Linked DNA regions of Homo sapiens: region 2 is linked to region 1. Evidence: promoter capture Hi-C in 16 types of primary human blood cells and fetal thymus (Javierre and others, 2016). All regions are on one chromosome and are shown on one strand. The core of a region is centred on a gene start or on the middle of the fragment in contact, and the rest is flanking DNA. Distances in the headings are between cores, read along the strand shown.

The links. The method cuts DNA at HindIII sites, captures the fragments that hold promoters and counts their contacts. A CHiCAGO score of 5 or more calls a contact.
Region 2: a contact is called between a fragment that was not itself captured here and the fragment with the promoter of ST8SIA3 in region 1, in 1 of 17 cell types (endothelial precursors). The highest score is 6.3, in endothelial precursors.

Annotation. Positions count from the first base shown.
Region 1 is chr18:57,347,836-57,354,638 of GRCh38, reverse strand. ST8SIA3 (ST8 alpha-N-acetyl-neuraminide alpha-2,8-sialyltransferase 3) reads right to left here and starts at 2,082. Exons shown (of 4, transcript NM_015879.3): 1 at 1,614-2,082; 2 at 115-237. The coding sequence starts at 1,792. The HindIII fragment of the contact is 6,120 bases long and covers 1-3,439 here.
Region 2 is chr18:57,123,912-57,130,065 of GRCh38, reverse strand. No RefSeq gene overlaps it. Among named protein-coding and RNA genes, the nearest start is that of BOD1L2, 20 kb to the left of the region's middle. The HindIII fragment of the contact is 598 bases long and covers 3,743-4,340 here.

The DNA of each region.
Region 1 (6,803 bases), core at 833-3,332:
GGGCGTATAGATGTTTGTTGTTTTAGATGTTTTTGTTTGCTTGTTTTTGTTTTGTTTTGTTTTGAGCTCTTGAATTCTTAAAAGCACCTTTTGGATCTTTTCCTCCTATCCTACCTTTGATGTAAAAACGCTGTCCGATTAAATTTCCACTTAGAAGGTTTCTCTTGGAGTTCCTGGGTGAGAGAATTCGTAATGGGCACGAATGACGGGTCTAGAAACTTCAGCGCAAATTGTGACCTGGAGAGGAGCATGAGCACAGACAAGCGTGCTGGCCTCAGCTCGGGGAAGCCGAGGTAGCCATTAAAGTGCAGCGGCTGGGGCGAGGGCGGCTGGTACGCGTGCGGGCTCCGTTCCGTCCCGGAGCCCCTCTCATTTGGTCCACCCTCTGCTCCCACACACACCCGAGAGAAAAAAAGAAAACTAGGGAACCCCATCTGCATTGTCCATCCCTCCGGGTGCCGGAGAGACCATAAAATGGCCGTCATGCGGAGAGCAGGGCGCACGCCGGGCGCAGGGCTGGAGCCCGCGGCGCTGCGAGGACCAGGGAATCAGCACCGCGGACAGCGGCCGCCCCGCCAGCCTGACCCGCTACGCCTTTGCAGCCCCATAGAATTGTTTTTGGAGAAAGGGCAGAGGAAACCGGAGACCCAGGGAAAGTCTGGGGGTGGTTCCTGCCTTAACCTCTTCCTTCCCAAACCCACGTCCGATTTCACTTCCTATAACTTGGCTGGGGACCCCCGGGGGCCGCCGGCCTACTCCGCTCCTCGGTCCAGGCGAGGCTCCTCTGGGTTCCTCGCCTCGGTCCCAGCTTGGACCACAGGTGGCACTTTGTAGTTGCCACCTGCCCGTCAGGAGGCCCTGCTGGGAGAGTTCCCGGGGTCACAGAGCGGGGCGGGGGCTCTCGCAGAGCGGCGTCAAGCTGCGCCTGGAGCCTTCACAGGCCGGCCCAGCGCGGAGCGGTGACTCCGACCTGGCGAGGGTGGGCGGCCCTTCCGAGGCTCGCTTCCCGCAGGGGGCGGGGGAATTGCAGAAATCCCGGAAAGCTGGTGGGGGGCGGTGGCTGCGGGGGAAAGGGTTGAGAGAGAACGCCCCAGGGGCTTCCTGAGAATAAACCCGCGTGTCCTTTGATAGGCGTGGGGGAGTAAAGGAGGAGGGCGCGAGGGGAGTCCGGCGCCTGCGCCATTAAACCGCCAGCACCGCCCCGGGCCCGGCCCGCGGAGTCTGCGGACAGGGCGCGGGGAGGGCGCTCCCCTCACGCCTGTCCATCTCTGCTCGCCGCCCCCTCCCGAACAAACACACCGTCTTTCCCTCCACCCTCACCCTCCTGAAAGCCTCCCCCAACCCCCATTTCTGAAATGAGGGAAGGGATGCTGAGGAAGAATACGAGAAATGCAATCACATCGATTTGGACAGCGGCTTCTAGGGGCTTTGGGTTAAAAAAAAAATAACAGGGAGGGGGAAGGGAGAATTAGAGAGAGGAGTGGAAGGACCGCGCAGTTATCTGGCCCAAAGAGTCTCGGAGAGGCCAAAACACCCCTCCCCCACGCCTTCCCTTCCCCAAACACCCCATCAACCAAATTCCCGAGGGCACTAACACAGAGGCCCGCACTCACCGGAATCCCGCGTGGAACATGTACATTCGGGGCGCCCCCGGGCTGGCGTACTTGGGAGTGGTGAAGATGTTCTCCTTTTTCAGGGACACGTAGCTGATGAGCGATAAAATCAGCAGGGCGACGCTGAGCATGACCAGCCCCAGCACACTGGCGACCCGGGCCATTTTGCAGTTTCTCATCCCGGGCTGGGCTGGGTTCAGGGAAACCGGGGAAATCGGTCCATTGAGCGGCCAGCAGCTCGCTGGCGTGTATATATGTGTGTGTGTGTGTGTGTGTGTGTGTGTGTGTGTGTGAGCGCGCGCGCGTGTGGCGGAGGAGGGGGACCCGGGCGGGGGTGGGGGGAGGCCACCGGGGCCGGGGGTTGGGGCTGGCAGGAGCCCCGGAGAGCAGCGGGACCCCGTAGGCAGGGGCGCGCGGGGCCCGGTGCCGAGCAGGAAGATGGAGGGGCTGCGCGGCGGCGTGGCGAAGGAGCGCGCAGCGCCGTGCGTCCCCGGCCGCCGGCTCAGGCTCCCCCGCGCGTTTCCAGCGAGGCTGCCATCTCCTCCGCCGCCTGCAAGATAAATGTGATTGGAATAATGTTACAGTTCGATCTAAGCACAGGATTTAATTAATGAACTCTAATCTCCCAAATAACCGGGGGGAGGGGGTGCAGGAGAGGGAGGGAGTAGAGGGAAATGGTGGAGGGAGGGGGACTGAGGCTGCCAGGCTGCAGCCCGAGCCTACGGCCTCCCCGGCTGAGGGTGCCGGCGAGGAGGTGGCTGTGGGGAGACGGGATCCCAAACTTAGTTTAATGGACCATTCATTACTTTATAATATCACGGAATAGAGAGACAAATAACCGGATTTGCTGTCCTGGAGGGTAAACAACAGCTGGGTGCTTCTCAAAGAAGCAGGGAGGATGGTTTTTGGAAGGCAGCTATTTAAAAGCATCTCCCCTCGTTAAGGCACCGCCCCGGCCCCCTGCCCCCGCCATCCTCCCACCCCAAAGGAAGCTCCAAACAGCAACTGGGCCTGCCTGCCTCGGGAGCCCTTAAAACCTTCTTGGAATTTGCCAGAATGACTCCCCTGTGCGCCTTGTATGCCCACCACATACTTCACTTATCCCTAAAGGGTGGGTAGTGCCTAGCAAAGTTGCGAGGTGACCTGTGAGTCGGGAGGGCCTGCCTTCCTCTCCCCTTTCCGTCTTCCAGTGGATGGACAATGTGCTTGCCCCTGACTTGACTGGGCCTGTTGAAGTCAGCCCTGGTTTAACTCTCCGTTGCCCACTCTTCAGATCCATCCTTCGGGCCTGGTCTCCTGATGGGCTAGGTGGCCTGAGCCTCCCAAAAGCTGAGGCCATTAAAAAACACAGAACTTTTTATGAAGCAGCCCAAGAACCAAATAATAGAGGCTGCCTCTGAGAGTGGAAGGCAAACGCACTAACACTTTGCATTGCTTGACCTTAAATTTATTTTAGCATATTCACGTGTTTCTTGTATATCCATTAGAAATACAAATTAATCCATTTTCAGTCATGCAGTTGGGTGCTCAGGGGAAACTAGCATGTTTCTTTAGCTCTGTCCTTTGCAATTAGCTTATGGCCTCTGCTACCCTAGCTTTACTCTTCGCTTGGTCCTCCCAATACTAGTTAATAAGCACTAATGAGGGAAGCTAGGGGTGAGAAATTGGCGTTTGAGTTCTGATAAAACAAGTTGAGATTCTTCCAAGATGGTTATGACTTCTTTCTCTCCTGAACTTCTTGCCTTGTAGGCTTTCATGGACCTAATGTTATTATCTGTCTGGAGGCTGTAAATTCCTTGAAGGGGTGAGCTCCTGGATTGTAAGCTTCGGCAGAGCAAGGCTTGTCTTACTTCTCCAATACTGTCTCTTACACATGTCATGCTTGCTAAATGTTTGAAGACCTGATGAGCTCCCTTGGGAAACATATCTGTGTGGTTGTGGACAGTGGCACAAAGAATGCTCCTATTTGTTTCCAGTGACAAAGGGGGTCACTTTGCACCCACTAGAGACTTTTTAACCAAAATCTAAAAGTGTGTGTCAGGAGGACACAAATAACCTCCTTTCCTCTGTGGGGCTTTTTTATTATTTAAAAAAATTTAGAAAAGGCTTGCATGCCTGGATATGATGAACACTTGAACTGTATTTTTTTAAATTGCTATTTTTTAAAAATGATTGTATGAGTAAGGTGTAAAATGCCAAAGGGAGTAAGATCTTAAGAGAGCCATCTAGGAATGACACCTGTTAGAAAAAGTCTTCTTGAACCAGAAATCAGGAAACATGCTATGGAGAGGCAGCCTGGGGTAGTGTTACACCTTCAGACTGTGGAGCCAGAAAGACCTGACTTCAAAAGCATACTCTGGGTATTATCAAAAACACAAAAAATAACAAATGCTGGCAAGGATGCAGAGAAAAGGGAACTCGTATACACTGTTGGTGGGAATGCATTCTAGTACAGCCACTATGGAGAACAGTACAGAGGTACCTGAAAAAAACTACAAACTGAACTATTATAAGATCCAGTATTCCCATGACTGGGCGTTTATGCAAAGGAACGGAAATCAGTATGTCAAAGAGATATCTACCACCATGTTTATTGCCACATTGTTCACAATAGCCAAGATATGGATCAACCCAAGTATTCAACAACAGATGAATGGATAAAGAAAATGTGGTATATATACATAAAGGAATCCCATTCATCCATAAGTAAGAATGAAATTCTGTCATTCTCAGCAACAGGAATGAGCCTGGAGGACATTATGTTAAGTGAAATAAGCCAGGAACAGAAAGTTAAACACCGCATGTTCTCACTCATACACAGAAGCTAAAAAAGCTGATCTCAAAGAAGTAAAAAGTAGAACAGAGAATACTAGAGGCTGGGAAGTGTACGGGGGAGAGAGGATAAAATATTTATTAAAGGATACAAAATTACAGCTGGATAGAAGGAATAAGTTCTAGTGTTCTATAGCACTATAGGATGACTATAGTTACAATAATGTATTGTATATTTTCATATACCTAGAAGAGAAGATATTGAATGCCCCAAAACAAAGAAATGATACAAGTTTGAAATGACAAATATGCTAATTACCCTGATGGGATCACTATGTATTGTATGTATCAAAATATCACTATGTACCTATATATGTATGATTATTATGTATCAATTAAAATAAATGCTTACTCTGGCATCCACAGCCAGGTGACCTTGGGTAAGTTACAACTTCTCTGTGTTTCAGTCTGCTAATCTGCAGAACTGGGATAAAAATCTCCCAGGGTTTGGGGGAAGATTAAACAAAGCATATAAAGGCCTTTGCACCCTGGCCTATATTAAGCAGTTAATAAATATGAGCTAACAGCTTGGGTAAGTTTTTAGTGTCTTTTTCTCTGACCCTGTAAATGTCCTGCTACAGAGTGCATACGAAAGGATGTACTTAGGTGAGATATTTTCTTGCAGAGAATAGCAAAGATCAAGAAACTCTTCTGTTCCCTTTATAAAACAGCATTGCAGGCTTTCCTGAGACATCTGATATGGGTTCGCTCTGCCTGGATTTAAAAACTGATGTATTACTTATGCTTAGCACACCTCTGTGAACCTTCTAAAGAAAGTCCTAGGAGGACGATTTTCATATTGCATACAGGCCACTGAAGGTCACATGATGTAAAGGGACCAAATTAGCCAGAAAATAAACAGGCAGGCAGGCATCCTTATTACATGTGACAGGCTTATGGGTGAAAACGGATTGCTCAATAATTACCAGGGGAATAATTTTGGTGGCGGTGCTTCAAAAAACAACTGTAGCTACTGGATAAGGGATTTTTCAGGCCTGGGATTATAGCTATTTAATAATTAAAAAAAATCAGGACATTTTAACAAAATATCACTTATCAAATTTCATTGGAAATCAATCCTGTGCAAGAGTATAGGCGAGTGAAAATAAGAAGCACAGAAATGAAAAATCCCCCAGATGTAATGTTTTCTAGGAGAGTGTTATTCTAGACATAGGAACTTACTTCCCTTCTTCCACTCTCATGAGTGCCCACCTTTTGCGAACATGACTCTGCTCCCTGGCTAGCCCCTCACCAACCCATACTGGCCAAGAACAATTTCCAGGAACCCATTTAGGTGGGAAGGCCAGGAAAGGTGGTGTATTTTGTTAGAAACAACATTGTTCCTTTGGGAGGCAGAGGCGGGCAGATCACTTGAGGTCAGGAGTTTGAGACCAGCCTGGCCAATGTGATGAAACCCTGTCTCTACTAAAAATACAAAAATTAGCCTAGTGCAGTGGTGGGCCCCTGTAATCCCAGCTACTCAGGAGGCTAAAGAAGGAGAATCACTTGAACCCAGGAGGCAGAGGTTGCAGTGAGCCGAGACTGCGCCACTGCACTCCAGCCTGGGTGATAGAATGAGGCTGTCTCAAACAAAACAAAACAAAAAGAGCATTGTTTATTCATTCATTTATTTCTGTTTTCTTTAATTATTCATGCAATGAAATGTGTTGGTTATCAGACACCATGCTTGGCAGACTCAGGGGTTATAAAATCATCCTTGACCCCACGATGCTTATGGTCTTGTTGGGGAGAAGGATGTAAATGTAACAGAGGTACTACGCAAAAAGCTCCACACTAGAGGACTGCTGAGAAAACTGGGCAACACGCTTTGTCTGGGAGGTTAGCAAAGTTCTTCATAGGGGACAACATTTGAGCTGGATTTTAAAGCATGAGTAGGATTCATTAGGTACAGAAGTTTAGAAAGGCCATTCCAAGTAAAGGAAAGACTAGAAGCAGGAAAGATTATGGTGGGCTTGGGGAAGAGCAAGAGGTAGGAGGTGACTGCTGCAAGAGAAAAGCCTAGAAGACTACAGTCAGATCGGGATGGGCCTGTGGGACATGGTGAGGACTTGGTCAGGATCCTCTCGCAGCGCTGCTCAGAACCATCCAAAGTTCACAGAGAGGAGTGACTCAATGTGATTTGCACTGAATGGATGTCAAAGCAGCTGGAGCCAGGCCCGTGGGGAGGTGAGACACCAGCTGCTCCTGCGGATGTCAGCCGACGCGCCTCGTGGCCCTGCAGTCTGTCCACGTGCTAGAAGCCCCAGTGTGCCTTAATTTATCAATGAACCAATTGGCCATTTTATTTTATGAGACACCCCTGAATAAGGCATCAGGGAGTTGACTTTCAGGAGGGCA
Region 2 (6,154 bases), core at 2,792-5,291, 230 kb after region 1:
TATTATTTTTTGAATGTATTAAGAAAATAATATTTGGGAGGAAACAAACACAGAAATCAGAGACTTGACTGCCCCAGCTGTCTGGAGGCGACTTCAGAAGTAAAATAAGCCATCTCTACAGGCCACTTCATCACAAAGCTCTAACAAGGTTCTTGGAAACCACAACAATCTCACTGAAGACCCATATGGTACATGAGACATAGTTCCCCACAACCAGAGAGAACTCCACAAGAGCTCTGCCACTTAGTCCCTGTGAGACTTGGGGAAGTGAACTCACCTTCACCTTTTATAACAGGATCCTGTGTTTCCATATGGGAAAATGGGGAGGGGCTGATTTTAGGTGAGGGACTACCAACCCAGGTGCCTTAAGCCTTCACCAGAAGTGAGCTAGGCCATTGGGTAGACTGTTCAGGAATAAGAGCTGCCAGAGCTGTGAAAGACTGTTCACCTATTCCTACTCAAGAATAGGAACAGAGCTGCTGGCACTTCCAATTTTTAAAGAAAATCCCTCAAACTTTATTCTTATTTGAAGGCTCCTGATGTAAAATATTGATGATGAATTCAGCTTAACACAAATAAACCAAGAAACAATCCAAAACACTACAAAGGTCAAAAAAGACACATCCATCATGGGGATATATCTGGTCACCAGTTCACGACATCTGCATTATGTGATCTCTGAAGTCTCTTCAAGCTCTGGAACTTTGCGATTCAGTGATGTCTTGTTTCTCCTCTTGAGATGTGACATGTACAATAGGGAAGGTCAAACCGAGGTGCTTTCTATCTTTGAGGCAACACTGGTGAAGGCTGGAACCAGCAACAGGTGACATTCTCAAGCCGATGAATTTTTCTCCAACTCCATAGCGAGCCCTCAGCTGACTCCCTATCCTGTGTTTAACACGGCTGTGCTACTTCAGGCTCCCATCTCGCTGAGGGTGCCCATGTCAGCCAATGACCTTTGTTACACCCCAGTGCCTTCAGGTATATAAATAAGGAGCTTTTCTATCCAAACTGGACAGATAAGATGTACTATACTTGCATGTCACAAAGCAGACATGTGCAGTAGGGTCTCAGCTATAGAGGAAGGTGAGGTTCTGGAAATATTTTGTGAAAAAAAAGACTGTGTAAGTATGAGAAGGGTCATCAGATAATATCAGCTTTTACAGATCGGGGCTTCTCAGAGGGATGCTATAAAACACTCTTCACAGAGGCTCAAAAGGAGTATTGATTTTTTTAGGAGCAGAAGGGGTCAAAATTACATGTCTTGCACAACAGCAGCCACTGCTCTGCCACTCTGGACCTTTCTAACAAAGAACAAAGTCAGGAACAGGCAGAAAAATAGAGCTGAGAAGGGAGACAAAGAGGAAGGCATTGTCTGGTCCTGGCAAACCTTCCCCCGGACGCTGTATTAAGGCAAGGTGAAGCTCTTCAGCAATACCGGAACCTGATTTTATGTGGTGGCTGCTGCAGTTGACAGCCATCTCTGGGGACCTGCTGTGTGTCTGCAGGAAGGCGGTGGGAAAGGTCACCACAGGGCGGGCTGTGGCCCAATGGCACTGGCAGCCAAAGATTTCCCAGGTTGATGCACTTGATCCTCCAAGTAGATAAAATGCCCAGAAGGCACCAGACATTTTCATAGTCCAGCAGGATGGTGCTGAAATCAGCATTGCAGAATCCTGATGGCATGCCCCTCAGAACAAGAACATGGATACTTGCCGGTGTCTTTTGCTCTGGAAGGGTGGACAGGTGGAAGGGAGAAAGAGGTTGCTCTTGTGTGATTGCAAAAGAGGACGCAGCACCTATGTCCACTATGTGGCCTGAGAGAGGTCCCTTGCCCAAAGGGGTACAGGAAGACTTCCTTAGGAAGGAAGTTGGATTTATGTTTTGTTTATTTGTTTGTTTGTTTGTTCGTTTTCTGAGATAGGGTTTCACTCTATCACCCAGGCTGGAGTTCACTGGCATGATCACAGCTCACTGCAGACTTGACTTCCAGGATTCAAGCAATTCACCCACCTCAGCTGCCAGAGTAGCTGGGACCACAGGTGTGGTGACCACCATGCCAAGCTAATTTTTGTATCTTTTGCAGAGGCAAAGTCTTGCTATGTTGCCCAGGCTGGTGTCAAATTCCTGAGCTCAAGCAATCCAACCACCTTGGTCTCCCAAAGTGCTGGTATTACAGGAGTGAGCCACTGTGCCCAGCCCAGAATTTATAAATCAGAAGGTCACTTTCCTGGGGGCTGCAGCCAGGAAGCTATTAGAATGAATTAAACCAGCGAAGCTCTGGGAGTTAGCAACAGAGCAGAGAAGCAATCAATGGCATCTTAATTCTTGCTACCTCCTGGAAGTGTGGAGATCCTATTCTTTACTTTTTCTTCCCTCCCAGGTTCTGTCCAGTTGATAAGTAGACCGTATTTGCCTAAAAATGATCAAAATATTTCCTACTAAACCCAAAGTGTGAGGGTCTGAGAAGGTTCATCTGTAGAGCCTTCAGGGAACCCTACCTGCCACCCAAATGTGAATGAACCTGGGTGGAGATGCTGGGAATTTGAAGAGAAAGCACAATGTAATGGACAGCAGGCAGGATTAGGGGACAGCAAGAAAGATGGGCCCATGTTGTCTGTTTCCATGGAAGGATCCTGCCTCTGGAAATTGTGGCCTCGCAGATCCAGACTCCAGCTGATTGCACCACACACCCTGAAGGAGGTGGAGAGCAGACCAAGAGTTCACCCCAGCACTACTCCACCATATGGAAACCTGAAGGTGAGGAAGACAAAGGTTCCTCCACCCTTCACATACACACCAGAGCAGGGCTGGGCCATCAGATAGGTCAGAAGCAACGTGAAAAGGGCTAAGCTCTAAAGTTAGACACCAGCTTAAAACAGAGTGGGATCAACCAGTGAGAGGCTGTGGGTCATACCCGCTGCCAACTAGTGAGTGAAGTCAACCTGCAGGGTGACACAGCCATGCAGGGGGAGCCATGAAAGTTAGGGTCTAAGGAGCTGGAAAAGAACCAAGGAGAGAAAGGCAACAACAGACAGACAGAAGGGATGGCTATGATTGCACAAAGAACTTCCCTTCCTTCACAAGCCCACAGCTGGGTCTCTTGCCACTGCCTCAGCAGTTCTTTTCCCAAAGCCTCAGTCTCTAAGCCTGGCATCTGGATATGGGGCAAATGCAGACAGAGAAAGTTTCTGGTTAGCAGGAGAGAGCCCAGAACTAGCATCACTGGAAGCCCAACCCAAGGTGGTCAGTGACCAGGGAGTCTGTAAGCATAGAATGACTGAGACAACAAGGGCAGAGGTCGGGAGGGTGCATTGTGATCATGGGGAAGAACGGAGCTGGATCAGGTGAGAAAGCCCTGGAAGTGAGAATAGTAGTTAAGCTCCATGTTGTGGCTGTATGGTGAAAAGTCTGACCTAGATGCCAATTTCCCATACACTGAGCTTCCAAAAATGTCCAAGCATATGTCTTCGGGGCTTGATTTGGACAAGATCTGACCAATATAGTAACCATTTTCTGAGCAGCCTGCATGGGCTGGGTCCCAGGAGAGCCGTCTCAGATGGCCTGAAGGCAGAAGGAGCCTTCAATTTAAGGAGCCACCTGAGCTTCTTTCCCATCCGAGGATGGTGCTAGTGTGAGATTCTCCCTAGACTGAACATTAAGGAAAATGGGAATGTCCATGTTGACAAATCAGTTCAAGGATGGAAAAAGATTCTGTTAGAAGGTGAGACTTTAAGAAGCTTCTATACAACAGTAAGTTCTATTCATCTACGTTTCTCAACTTTGTAAAATTTCATCAGTCAAATCCTTTTGCTAAGACCCCATCTATTTCTCTGTTTATGGACTCCCTCAACCTTCCTTAATCATCCCTTTATGCTGAACTCGAGCTAAAATATTTATAACATGATATTATTAGCAAAGTTCATTCATTAAGGTAATGTTTACACTTCCATTACCAGCCAGTAGTGGTCTTTCATTCATGAAGTTCTCCTTTTGCCACTAGTCCTTAATGCAGATCACTGAACAATTAAGGGCTTCCTGTGCGTGGAGTTGTTCCAGGTTGCTCAGGTCTTCCGTTGGTGCCTACACTCAGGTCAGTGTTTTCTGAACAACTTTACTCTTGGGAAGGCTCAGGACATACTTCAGGTAATAAATGGTTTCTGTCACAATGACACCACAGACGGAATCCTGAGAAAAGATTTCACTAATGGCCCTGCTGGTTTATGGGGATTAGCCTAATCTCTCCCACCAGCAGTTCTCTTTCCTCTCTCTACCTGGGGTTCCTCTAGTCGACCCACGACCACTGTGAGCAAACAGTGGCCACAGGAAGGAAGGAAGCTTATAGGGACTCAGTCATGTTTGAAAACTGAACACAATAAGGCATGTTTATTCTGCAAAAAGTCCCTGTGTAAAAGGTAAGAGATGAGGCTTTGCCCTTTTTTGGAACTTCAAAACCTCACTGGGCTTATCCACTTAACAATGGAATGAAGTTCTACAAGAGAAGATAACTTCCCAGTGTCATGGAGCTGGCGCAAGAGCCCAGATTGGACTCTTCAACTCTCCAGGCCTATTTTCACTGCACCACATGTTCTTACAAAATGGGAGCTGGCCTTGGAGCTAGCCATTTGGAGCGGTTACCAACCTCCAGAAATTAATAGAACCCAAGACCAAGACCTCACATAGTTCGGCAAGGAGAAGCCTGAAAGTATGAGGGGAAAGCTACAGTGGACCTCAGGACAGTAAATGCTCTAAAAAGATGCTAGGTTCATGAATATTTCTTCCCCAGCCTTGAATGACCCAATGATTCATTTCACAAATGAAGAAACTATGGTTCAGAGAAGTTAAAAGACATGGCCAGGGTCATTCAGCCAGTTACCTGACTGAAATAAAGACCGTGCGACCCCATCCTCAGTCCAGTGCTCTCTGGCACACTGTCCTCCCACATCCAACTCATTCATTTAATAGCACATATTTCTGTTGCTTGCCAACTTGAGAAAAGATGAATGTAAATTGTTTTTTAAAGAAAAGAGGGCAGGGAGAATCGCATAGTTCCACTTCTAGGAGCTTATCCTGCGGATATATTCATATATATATACATATATATATGTATATATGTATATATATATATCTGTGAAACAATGTGTATACAAGACTATGCACTGCATTTTTTGTGGTAATTATTTGAGACAACTTAAATGTCCATCAGTAGGGGATTATTGATATAAGTTATGGTGTATCTATGTGGTGTGTCTATGCAGTGATTAAAAAGAATGAAGCAGCTATAATCAAGTGTATGTACTGCTATGAAAGACCTACAAGCTACAATGTTAAGCAAGATACACAACAGTGTGTGTGCTATGCTGCCAATTTTGCAGTGTGTGTGTGTATGTGTGTGTGTGTTTGCCTGTATCAAATAATTCTAGAAGAATGTCTAAGACACTGGAAACACTGGTTGCCTTTTGGGTGCCAATGCTTGGCACTTAGTAAATGCTCAATGAATACTTGTTATTGGAAGGAAAACATCCACCTTAACCAATATTGGCTTTCAACAAGGCATAAAATAGAAGTCTATGTATCCAATTATTCTCATTCCCTAACATTGACACCGGGGCCCACGTCCAGATTCCTGGGCTTTATGGAGTGAATGTCCTTCTGTAGCAAACATCTTTGCAGCCTGACACATCCAACTGCATTACAGCAAAGCCCAGGAAGCACAGCCTCTGGGGCTGGAGCACTTAACTCATAATGCCAAGAGGAGAGACTCACCAGCCACATTTGTTTCTCACAGGAATTCTTAAAATCTTTCCTAGACACCATCTAACGGGAAGTGAAAAGTGGCCAAGACAAAGACTCCAGTAAAAAAGACAGACTCTTTTCTCAAAATCACAGGAAAGAGCCAAAAGCTGAAACACCTTTTTAAATTTAAAAATGTATCTATTTATCAAAGAACTATAGGCCCCCATGGTGGAAAGATCACTCCCTTCCAGGGCCACACCTGGACAGCCCAGCCTATGGGATTATCCGTCCCCACCACAGCTTGCCCGTGGATTCTTCTTCTTATGGATTCCTTGTCTCTATTCTCCAAAATGATAACTAGTAAGAACTGAATAAACAAAACATGCTAGAGGTTAGATTCGTGGTATTAACCTGATGG